2 separate regions of the Homo sapiens genome follow, and region 1 is linked to region 2. Evidence: promoter capture Hi-C in human tissues and cell types (Jung and others, 2019). All regions are on one chromosome and are shown on one strand. The core of a region is centred on a gene start or on the middle of the fragment in contact, and the rest is flanking DNA. Distances in the headings are between cores, read along the strand shown.

Region 1 (6,151 bases), core at 3,552-6,051, 190 kb before region 2:
CTTCACTTTATGTGTTATGAAAGTTTATGATGAAACCTTTTTAAAACAATTTTAGTATTATAGAAAATTTCAAACATATCAGAAAATAGAGAATAGTTTTATTAACCCCCTGTGTGTCTGTCACCCAACTTCAAAAATTATCAACTCTAGTCTTGGTGCTATGGCTCATACCTGTAATCCCAGTACTTTGGGAGGCCTAGGCAGGAGGATCACTTGAGGTCAGGAGTTCAAGACCAGCCTGGCCAACATGGTGAAACCCCCCCTCTACCAAAAAAATACTAAAATTAGCTGAGAGTGGTGGTGCATGCCTGTAGTCCCAGCTACTCGCGAGGCTGAAGTGGGAGAATCACTTGAACCCGGGAGATGGAGGCTGCATGAGCTGACATCGCGCCACTGCACTCCAGCCTGAGCAACAGAGTGAGAGCTTGTCTCAAAATTATCAACTCTTGTTTTTTCTCTACCTAACCCTCCATTTCCCCTCCCCCGCATTATTGTGAAGCAAATTCCAAGCATCATCAATCTATAAGTATTTCAATATGTATTCCCTAAAAAGGTGAAGACTCTTATTTTAAAAACATATCCAATATAATCATACCATAAAATGGTTAATTATTCAGTCAGTGTTTACATTTCCCTGATCGTCTTATGCCTTTTTTTTTTCCCCAGTTTGTTTTCTTGGGATCCAAATGAGATTCAAACATTGCCGATTAGTTGAAATCTCTCTCTAGTCTTATAATCTATAAGGTCCTTTTCCATCTCTCTTTTTCTTTTTTCTTTCTTTTTTTTTTTTTGGTATTTAAAAAATTTTTTTAATCTTCACTTTTTTTCTTTCCTTCCTTCCTTTTAATGAAGAAACCAGGTTTTTCTGTAGAGTTTACCACAGTCCAGATGTTGCTAATTGTGCATGCCCAAATATTTCTCTGCCCTTTTTTTTTTTGTAAATTAATATAGGCTTGATTAGATTAACAGCGTTTTTTTTTTTTAAGTTTACTTTACCGTTGTAATTCCATTAGGAAATAGATAATGTCTGGTGATGACGTGTATGCAGCCATTAATTCATTAGAGGTTGTAAAGAAGTGATATACTCCAGGTTGAGCATCCCTAATCCAAAAAACCACAAATCTGAAATGCCTTAAAACCCAAAATGTTTGAGTGCTGACGTGACACCACAAATGGAAAATTTCACACCTGACCTCATGTAATGGGTTGCTGTTAAAATGTACTGTGAGTCAGGAATGGTGGTGATGCTGAACAGCCACAGATAGTCCACATGGGTGGCCAAGGTAGTGATACCTTTGCTTTATGATGGTTCAATATATATAAGCTTTGTTTCATGCAGATTATTTAAAATATTATATGAAATTACTGTCAGGCTATGAGTATAAGATATATATGAAACATAAATTTATTTCATGTATAAACAGGTTCCATCCCCAAGATATGTCATTATGTATATGCAAATATTCCAAAAATCTGAAAAAAAAAATCCAAAATACTTAGCTGGGCATGGTGGCTCACACCTGTAATCCCAGCACTTTGGGAAGCCAAGGCAGGCAGATTGCCTGAGCTCAGGAGTTCAAGACCAGCCTGGGCAACACGGTGAAACCCTCTCTCTACTAAAAATACAAAAAAAATCAGCCGGGCCTGGCAGCATATGCCTGTAGTCCCAGCTACTCGGGAGACTGAGGCAGGAGAATTGCTTGAACCTTGAACCCAGGAGGCAGAGGTTACAGTGAGCCAAGATCACGCCACTGCACTCCAGCCTGGATGACAGAGTGAGACTCTATCTCAAAAGAAAGAAAGAGAGAGAGAGGGAGGGAGGAAAGGAAGGGAAGGGAGGGGAGGGGAAGGGAGGGGGGAGGGGGAGGGGGAAGGAAGGGAAGGGAAGGATAGGATAACATAAGCTGGGTTCTAGTGTTGTCATTATTTAGAGATGGGGTCTCACTTCCTCACCATGCCCAGCTAAAGTTTAAAAACTGTTTTAAAGACAAGCTCTTGCTTTGTTTCTCAGGCTGGTCTCAAGTGATCCTCCTGCCTCAACCTCCTGGGATTACAGCATGAGCCACTGTGCCCAGGTCTGCCATTTCTTTTTCTTTTCTTTCTTTTTTTTTTGAGATGGAGTCTTGCTCTGTCACCTAGTCTGGAGTGCAATGGTGCGATCTCGGCTCACTGCAACCTCCGCCTCCCGGGTTCAAGTGATTTTCTCGCCTCAGCCCCCCAAGTAGCTGGGATTACGGGTGCCCACCACCACGCCCGGCTAATTTTTGTATTTTTTAGTAGAGATGGGGTTTCTCCAGGTGGGCCAGGCTTGTCTTCAGCTCCTGATCTCAGGTGATCCGCCTGCCTTGGCCTCCCAAAGTGTTGGGATTACAGGCGTGAGCCACCGCGCTGGCTGCCATTTCTTTTTTTTCTTTCTTTCTTTTTTTTTTTTGAGACGCAGTTTCGCTCTTGTTGCACAGGCTGGAGTGCAATGGCACTGTCTCTGCTCACTGCAACCTCCGCCTCCCGATTTCAAGTGATTCTCCTGCCTCAGCCTCCTGAGTAGCTGGGATTACAGGCATGCGCCACCACACCCGGCTAATTTTGTATTTTGTATTGTTGGTCAGGCTGGTCACCAACTCCCAAACTCAGGTGATCCGCCTGCCCTGGCCTCCCAAAGTGCTGGGATTACAGGCATGAGCCTCTGCACCCAGCCTGCCATTTCTTTTTTAACCAGTACATATAGTTTTGATTTTTATGTATAATTCTAGCCTTAAAAATCCTTTTTTTTTTTTTGGCTGGGTGCAGTGGCTCATGCTCATAATCCCAGCACTTTGGGAGACCAGAGGAAGAGGATCACTTGATCTGGGAGTTTGAGACCAGCCTGGGCAACGTAGCAAAACCCCATAACTAAAAAAAAAAATTTTGGCCGGGCACGATGGCTCATGTCTGTAATCCCAGCACTTTGGGAAGCCGAGGTGGGCAGATCACCTGAGGCCAGGAGTTCGAGACCAGCCTGGCCAACATGGTGAAACCCCATATCTACTAAAGATACAAAAGTAGCCGGGCGTGGTGGCACACACCTGTAATCCCAGCTACTGTGGAGGCTGAGGCAGGAGAATCGCTTGAAGCCACGAGGTGGAGGTTGCAATGAGCTGAGATCACGCCACTTCACTCCAGCCTGGGCAACAAGAGCAAAACTTCATCTCAAAAAAAAAAAAAGGAAAAAAAAAATTTTTTTTAATTAGCCAAGCATGGTGGCTCACATGCACCTGTAGTCCCAGCTAATTGGCAGGCTGAGGTTGGGGGACTGCTTGATCCTGGGAGGCTGAGGCTGCAGTGAGCCGTGATCACACCATTACATTGCAGCCTAGGTGACAGCTAGACCCCATCTCAAAAAAAAAAAGGCTAGTCATAGCTGGAGACAGTGGCTCACATCTATAATCCCAGTGCTTTGGGAGGTTGAGGCAGGAGAATCACTTGAGGCCAGGAATTCGAAACTATCCGGGGCAACATAGCAAGACCCCATCTCTACAAAAAATTTTAAAATTAGCCAGGCGTGGTGACACATCTGTAGTACTAGCTACTGGAGAGGATGAGGCAGGAAGATCGCTTGAGCCTAGGAGTTGGAGATTCAGTTGTAGGGTTTTGTTTGATTTTTGTAAATAAGGAGCTGACTTGATTTTTTTCTTTTCTTTTCTTTTTTTTCTTTTTTTCTTTTCTTTTTTTTTTTTTTTTGAGACGGAGTCCTGCTCTGTTGCCCAGGCTGGAGTGCAGTGGCGCAATCTCGGCTCACTGCAGCCTACACCTCCTGGGCTCAAGTAATTCTCCTGCTTCAGCTTCTGGAGTAGCTGGGACTACAGGTGTGCGCCACCATGCCCAGCTAATTTTTGAATTTTTAATAGAGACAGGGTTTCACCTATTGGCCAGGCTGGTCTCAAACTCCTGACCTCAAGTGATCTGCCTGCCACCTCCCAAAGTGCTGGGATTACAGGTGTGATCCACTGTGCCCGGCCCTGACTTGATTTTTTCAATACTGCATCAAGGACATCAAAGCCATTGGATTAGTTCTATAAAACATTTTTAAATAACCAAATTTTCACTGCCTTATTTTATAATTGGAGGATGTGCCAGAAAAGTTTGAGTTCAGCCTGGGATAGAGTAAGGATTATGGCTAGAAAATGGGAATAGTTACTAGGAAACTGGCTTAAAAAAAAAAATTAAAAAGGGGTTCCTGGTAAGTTGAATTTTTAGGTAATATTTATTTTCTTAACGCATAGCCATTTTCAAACTACTGTCATTCCCATGTGAGTAAGAACAACCACAGTTCCAGTAAAATCTATGGGGAAAGGGACTTAGAAGTCAGAGACTTGAATTCAGATTCCAATTTTTTGTTTACTGGCATTATGAACTTGAGTATTCAAATTTTTCTTTGTAGAACATTTTAAAATAGGCACTCTGAAATTTGAGTTAATTCTTATATATGGTTTTGTCTGCAAGATACCAGTTCTCAGGGACTGAATTTTTTTTTCCAGTTTACTGTAAACACACCACCTACTCCAGAAGACCTGATGTTAAGTCAATATGTTTACCGACCCAAGATACAGATTTATAGAGAAGATTGTGAGGCTCGTCGCCAAAAGATTGAAGAGTATGAAAGCTTTAATTTTTATGTGTGTTTTTTTGAGGGGAGGGATCAGTTAATAGTTTGTGTGGTAAGGTTTTGATTAGAATAATGCTGGCATGGGGTAAAATTGATGGCATTAATTGGCAGTGTGATGTGGGAGAAAGAGCTTTGGCCTCGTAGTCAGATTGAAGCTCAGTCTTGGCTTCAACACTAGCTGTGTAACCTTGGGTAAGTCATTTAACCTTCATTTCCAAATCCTTAAAGTGAGGATAATAAAACCTACTCAGCCAATAGATATGAACAATAGAAATGGCGTATATAAATTGTTTTCATACCATTCTTAGGAAAAGGTAGGTCCTTAATAAGAATAAACAGTAATTTTTAGATTATGATATCATAAGTTGATTGCTAGAGAACACCTTCAAAAGAAAATATCCTTTAGAGATTTACGCAAGTTGAGTAACCTTAATCTGGAAATCGGAAATCTGAAATGCTCCAAAATCCAAAATGTTTTAGCCACCAACATGATGCAAGTGGAAAATTCCACACATAAATACGTAAGTACTTTACACAAACTTTGTTTCATGCACAAAATTGTTTAAAATATTGTATAAAATTACCCTCAAACTATGTGTACAAGGTATATATGAAACATAAATGAATTTCACGTTTAGGCTTGGGTTTCACCCGCAAGGTATCTCTTATATCCAAATAGTCCAAAATCCAAAACACTTCTGGTCCCAAGCATTTCAGATAAGGGATACTCAATCTATATATAGTGCCTGAAATCAGATTGCCTTTGAGTTTATAATTTTACCACATTTACGCTTGTTTACATATATAAAAGAACATGGTTTTACGTAGAAGATAGCTCATTGCTATGGTATACGTAAATACTGCAGACTGATTTACAAATTAGATACATCTAGATTCCCTTAGGTAAATCAGACTTTAAAACTCAAAGTAATGTTTATGTCATACTTATCTGGGACTATCCAACTAAATTTGAACCAATCTAACAGAAAAGAAATAAAATAGTCTTTAAGAATTATCTGGGTTTTAGAAGTAGAAGGAAAAGAATATTAAAAATTTTTCAAAAGAATTATGTAGTTTTGGCTGGGCGCAGTGGCTCACGCCTGTAATCCCAGCACTTTGGGAGGCTGAGGCAGGTGGATCACGAGGTCAGGAGATCGAGACCATCCTGGCTAACACAGTGAAACCCCGTCGCTACTAAAAATACGAAAAATTAGCCGGGCGCGGTAGCAGGCACTTGTAGTCCCAGCTACTCGGGAGGCTGAGGCGGGAGAATGGCGCGAACCCAGGAGGTGGAGCTTGCAGTGAGCTGAGATCGCACCACTGCACTCCAGCAGCTTGGGCCAAAGAGCGAGACTCTGTCTCAAAAAAAAAAAAAAGAATTACGTAGTTTTAAAATCAGAAATTTAAGATATTTCAGATTTTCCTGATTCTGTTCATTTAACAAATATTTATTGAGCACCTACATCTGCCAGGTACTATACTATGCACTGGGGTTCATCGCTGAACAAA
Region 2 (5,814 bases), core at 1,903-4,402:
TTAAACAAGTAGAGTGTTGTATCCTTAGATGCTTTCCCACTGCTGCTGTCTAAGGTGGGTATCTGGGGTAGAGCCCTGGTGGGTGGGCAGGGGCTCTCCGTAAACTGGAATGGAGCAGAGTAAGGCTGGAGACTGTGCTGTCTTGACCTCTGCCCAAGATGACCAACAACCTGGGGCTTCCCCAGCCACTTAACTGCTTCCTGCTGAAAAGAGCAGGGATTGGGAGAGAAACTGCCACCTGGCACCTTTGGACAATTACCATGGCAATCACAGGCCAGGCATTTTATTCCAGTCATTGCCTGGGAACGCTCCTTCCACATGTCTTGCTTTCTGTGTTACAGGCTTATTACTGTACAGCCTCCAGCCCTCCACTTTCATCTTGCAAAACAAGGTTCTTTCTTTGATGTCTGGAAGGATTTGCCCCGGAATGTCAGAAATTTGAGACTGTATGCAAGTGCACAATAAACAATCTGAAATTGAAACTGATCCAGTGGAGAGTGCTGGAATTAGGGAAGAGCAGTGGATATGTCCTGCGAGGTCAGAGCAGATACAGGCCAAGATAGTTTGCCTCCCAGCTCCAAGGGGTCTCCCTACCCTCAGTGAGTGGGCTTGGGAGGTAGATGCTTGGGATGCTGCATCTTTGGTCAATACCTTGACCAAACTGACACATGACCCAGTTAGTTTCGAGATAGACTGGGTCACAACAATCATTCTTCACCACCTGCAACCCTAGGACTGCTGATAACCCTTACCCACAGGAATTATAGGGCCCTGCTGCTCCAAAAAGATAGGATCTGAGTCAACAAGAAAGAGAAACAAGGACAACATATTTTGAACTCCTGACTAGCTTGGCGTATGGTTCTCAGCCCAGCCACACATTAGAACCAACTGTGGGGCTTTTAAAAAATGCCCAGTATCTGGACTCCACTGTAGTAGATTTAAATTCAGTTGAGGAGGAGCCAGGGCATCTGTTTTTTTTCTTAAGTATTTCAAGTGTGGAGAACCATTGGCTGCTCAAATAAGTGGCCAGGCTCCACACCTGGTCCCAAGGTTTCCTAGTTGTGTGACCTTGGGCAAGTTACTCAACATCTGTAAACCTCCATTCCCTCAGCTGTAAAGCAGTACCTGCTGGCCAGGCATGGTGGCTCACACCTGTAATCCCAGCATTTTGAGAAGCCAAGATTGGAGGATCGTTCGAGCCCAGGAGTTCAAGACCAACCTAGGCAACATAGCAAGATCTCATCTCTATAAAAAAAGAAAAACAGTACTTGCTTAATGGAGTTGTGGGAAGGATTAAATGAAAGAATGCATGTCAGTGCCTGGCATTGAGCCTAGCACGTAGTTGTGTTCAGAATGTTATTCTTATTGCTGGAACAGCAGTTCTTACCTCTCTAGAATCCAGGTTTAAAGGTATATAAGTAAGAAAGTGCCGTTTCCAGTAACCAGGGACCAAGACCTGTCCTTTTCCCAGAGTGGGGTTGAAGAGTGTTAGTCAGAGCCAGGGTCAAAGATTGCTTAGGTCCTGGTATTGGCACTCAACTTTGGTTACTCTTAACATTCTAGTCCCGCACTGTCCATTCTGAAATAACGAAAATATTCTATATTTGTGCTGACAACATAGTAGTCACTAGCCACATGGGGCTATTTAACACTTGAGATGTGGCCCATGTTGGCTGGGTGCGGTGGCTCACGCCTGTAATCCCAGCACTTTGGGAGGCTGAGGTGGGCAGATCACCTGAGGTCGAGAGTTCGAGACCAGCCTGACCAACATGGAGAAACCCCGTCTCTACTAAAAATACAAAATTAGTCGGGCACAGTGGCGCATGCCTGTAATCCCAGCTACTCGGGAGGCTGAGGCAGGAGAATCGCTTGAACTTGGGAGGCGGAGGTTGCAGTGAGCCAAAATCACGGCATTGCACTCCAGGCTGGTTTACAGAGTAAGACTGTCTCAAAAAAAGGCAAAAGAAAAAAGAAATGTGGCCCATGTGACTGGGGAACTGAATAATTTTATTTAATTATAACTCATTTAAAGTCAAACAGCTACACATGGCTGATGGCTACAGAATTGGAAAATGTAGCTCTAGGCTGGGCATGGTGGTGCACACCTGTAATCCCAGCACTTTGAGAGGCCGAGGCAGGCAGACTGTTTGAGCCAAGGAGTTCAAGACCAGCCTGGGCAACATGGTGAAAAGCCGTCTCTACAAAAAAAAATACAAAAAAATTTGCCAGGCGTGGTGGTGCGCACCTGTAGTCCCAGCTACTCAGGAGGCTGAAGTGGGAGGATGGCTTGAACCCAGCAGGCAGAGCAGTGAGCTGAGATTGCACTACTGCATTCCAGCCTGTGCAACAGGGCAAGACTTTGTCTCAAAAACAAACAAACAAACAAAAAACAAAAGAAAGAAAGAAAGAAAGAAACAAAGAAAAAGAAAAGAAACGAAAATGTAGCTCCGGACATGTATGTGCATTGAACATGGGAGTAAATAAAGATATAAAATTTTGAAACATAGTGTGACCAAGCATTTTCCCTTCTATTGTCTCATTTGAGCCTCAGAAAGTCCTATAAAGGAGATATGACAGGCACTAACAGCCCTATTATAGATTAGGGATGTTAAAAGACCTTCCCCAGATCACAAAGAGCATTAGAGGCACAGACAAGCCTAGAGGGAGGCAGACTTCTGGACTTCAAACCGATGCTTCTTTCTTTCATCAGTTACAAAAGCTTTCTCTTCACGGAAGCACCTCACATCAGCCCTCCAGCTCCTGTGAAGGTCTCAGTGCCCTGGGTGGACCCCAGGCCCCCATCTCCTCCCACTATCCGCTGTGCTACCTACCTGGAAGAGCTCCTGAACTTGAGCATCCACCCATTGCTCCATCTCCAGCCAGCGCTGGAGCTGGCCCCGGTCATACTTCACTGTCAGGCGGCTGGGTCTCCGGGACCTGGGTATCTTGGAGGAGTCCGGGTGGGACTTGGACTCTGAGTCTGTGGATGATGTCCTTCTCCTCCCAGAAGCCCAGTGGACCTTCTTACATGGGTTCTCCCCATCTGGGCTGGGAGATGTGCAGGAAGCAGGGCTTGAAGACAGCATGGAAGTATTGGTCTGGGCAAGGAGCTGGGAAAAACCGCCAGTTCTGAGCAGAGCCACAGAGGGAAGTGAGGAGACAGAGAACAGGAGAGGCCAGCAGAGAAGAAATGAAGGCAGGAGGAGGGCCAAGGCTCCCAGGGAGGGGCAAGGGCAAAGATCAATAGGACTTTGGTGCTGGGAATGCCAGTCTCCTGGCTCCTCACTGCCAGCCAGTGAGTGGCACTCCAGAGCCATGCCCCAGCCTCCCTTTCTGCAGCTTCTAGGGCCCAAAGTGGCATAAACTGCAGATGAGCAAAGGTCAAGAGGCTGCCATGCCCAGGGAGGAGGAAGGGGCCCTGGGGTCCTGAAGGGTACAGGGCTCCAATCGCTGCTCTATGGCCAGCTCTGGAATGGGACCTGAGTCGTTCTCACCTGAGATCCCTCTGTATCCCACCTTCCTGGGGCTGGATCCACTCTGGGCTCTGAGAAGCTGTGGTCAGATTCCGCAGAAGCAGGGTCCCTGGCTGGCAGGGATTCTTACTCAGAGCGTAGCACTACTGGGGGCAGAGCCCCAGCTGGTAGATAGAGTTGGAGGTCAGTTATTGATGGCTCCCGTAGGACCAGTGCCCCCAGTGTCTGGGTGTGTCCGAATGTAAACTGCTATCAGCCTGGCCTATAAAGGCAGTTTACCTGCTTGTAAAGGCAAATTTATCAAGACTTGTCTACTATGCCCGCTCCCCTGAGGCAACTGCTTAGGAAGCCATGTTTATTACCACGTGACCCTCCCCCGATTCATGTATTTGCTGACACAGAGGAAACCTGCAAACCTAACTTATACACAGGTGTCAGGGACTAATACTTCCAGGCATACATACTTGCATTCTAAGGCAGGGTATTTTTGTTTAGTCTTTTATAATGAAAATTTCTAAACTTTAAAAAAAAAAAGTGACAGAAGAACACTGTAATTTTTTTTTTTTTTTTTTTGAGATGGAGTCTCGCACTGTCACCCAGGCTGGGGGGCAATGCTGCGATCTTGGCTCACTGCAACATCCGCCTCCCAAGTTCAAGCAATTCTCCTGCCTCAGCCTCCCAAGAAGCTGGGATTACAGGCGCCCACCACCATGCCCGGATAATTTTTTGTATTTTTAGTAGAGACGAGGTTTCACTATGTTGCCCAGGCTGGTCTCAAATGCCTGACCTCATGATCCACCCGCCTCGGCCTCCCAAAGTGGTGGGATTACTGGAGTGAGCCACCGTGCCCAGCCTGTAATTTTTTTAAAATGGGGCCAGGCATGGTGGCTCACGCCTGTAATCCCAGCACTCTGGGAGGCCGAGGCGCGTGGATTGCTTGAGCTCAGGAGTTCAAGACCAGCCTGGGCAAAATGGTGAAATTCTCTCTCTACCAAAAAAAAAAATAATAATAATACAAAAAATTAGCTGCTTTGGGAGACCCAGGCGGGAAGATTGCTTGAGGCCAGTAGTTCAAGACCAGTCCGGGCAACACAGTGAGATCTTGTCTCCATTAAAAAATGTAAACAATGGGCCAGGCACGGTGGCTCATGCCTGTAATCCCAGCACTTTGGGAGGCTGAGGTGGACAGATGACTTGAGGTCAGGAGTTTGAGATCAGCCTGGCCAACATGGCAAAACCCTGTCTCTACTAAAAATACAAAAATTAGCCGGGCGTGGTGGCACACGTCTGTAGCCCCAACTATTCAGGAGGCTGAGGGAGGAGAATCGCCTGGGCCCAGGAGGCGGAGGTTGCAGTGAGCCGAGATCATGCCACTGCACTCCAGCCTGGGTGACAGAGCAAGACCCCGTCTCAAAAAAAAAAAAAAAAAAAAAGTAAAAAATGAAAAGCAAGATTACTCAGATATGGTGGTGCACACCTGTCATCCTAGCTGCTTGGAAGGTGGGAAAATCACTTCAGCCCAGGAGTTCAAGGCTACAGTGAGCTACAATGGCAACACTGCACTTAAGCATGGGTGACAGAGCAAGACCCTGTCTCAAAAAAGGAAAAAGGCGAATGGATGACAGTTTAATGATGAAATTTTAGGCCCTCACTTAAGAAGATAAGGGAGGTGTTTGAGTGGCTGGAAACTAAGATGGCAGCCAGGAAAAGCCCAGGCTTTGGAGGAAGGCTGACAATCTGAGTTCAACTCAGCTTTGCCCTGCATTGGTTTTATAATCCTTGGCCAAGTTTCATAGCCTGTTTTCACATCTGCAGATTGGGCTTGTTGGGAAGATAAAATGAGATGATGCATGTAAACATTTAGCATGGCATCTGAAACAGAGTCCCTGTCAGTAGACATTCATTCCTGTCCTTTATTTACCTCCCCACTCTCCCTGCCCTCCTGGCGAGGCTCTGGTGGTCAATGCCTGGGCTTTCATCAGTGTGGCTCTCTTCCTGAGCAGGAGGAGGGGGGCCTCTAGGATGCATCTTGTTGACTCAGCTGTCACTTTAACAGTCTGTGGCCAGGAGGCATTATTATGGTAGTTCCCTGCCTCTTCTGTTTCCTATCTTCTGAAGGGTTTGAGAGCCCTTTCGGGAAAAGAAACTAGATGAGAAGAGTCACTGTGTTTTGTTCATTTATTTACTCACTCATTTAACAAAGATTTTATGAGCTCCCCTGGTAGGCCAAACATTATGCTCAGTGGTTATTCAAGAGCCACAGGATGGGCACGGTGGGTCACACCTGTGATCCCAGCACTTTGGGAGGCTGAGGCGAGAAGATTGCTTGAAGTCAGGAGTT

Evidence for each region. Contacts are between HindIII fragments. The study calls those that stand out against the background at their distance.
Region 1: a contact is called between a fragment that was not itself captured here and the fragment with the promoter of PPP1R14D in region 2, in 3 of the 25 tissues and cell types used here (IMR-90 fibroblasts, adrenal gland and aorta).

The regions. Positions count from the first base shown.
Region 1 is chr15:40,636,398-40,642,548 of GRCh38, forward strand. KNL1 (kinetochore scaffold 1) reads left to right here. Exons shown (of 26, transcript NM_144508.5): 14 at 4,515-4,630. Among named protein-coding and RNA genes, the nearest start is that of KNL1, 45 kb to the left of the region's middle. The HindIII fragment of the contact is 3,641 bases long and covers 2,982-6,151 here.
Region 2 is chr15:40,825,556-40,831,369 of GRCh38, forward strand. It overlaps PPP1R14D (protein phosphatase 1 regulatory inhibitor subunit 14D), which reads right to left and starts at 3,153. Exons shown (of 4, transcript NM_017726.8): 1 at 2,832-3,153. The coding sequence starts at 3,086. RefSeq lists enhancers at 1-159, 160-660, 656-950 and a silencer at 656-950. The HindIII fragment of the contact is 14,686 bases long and covers 1-5,814 here.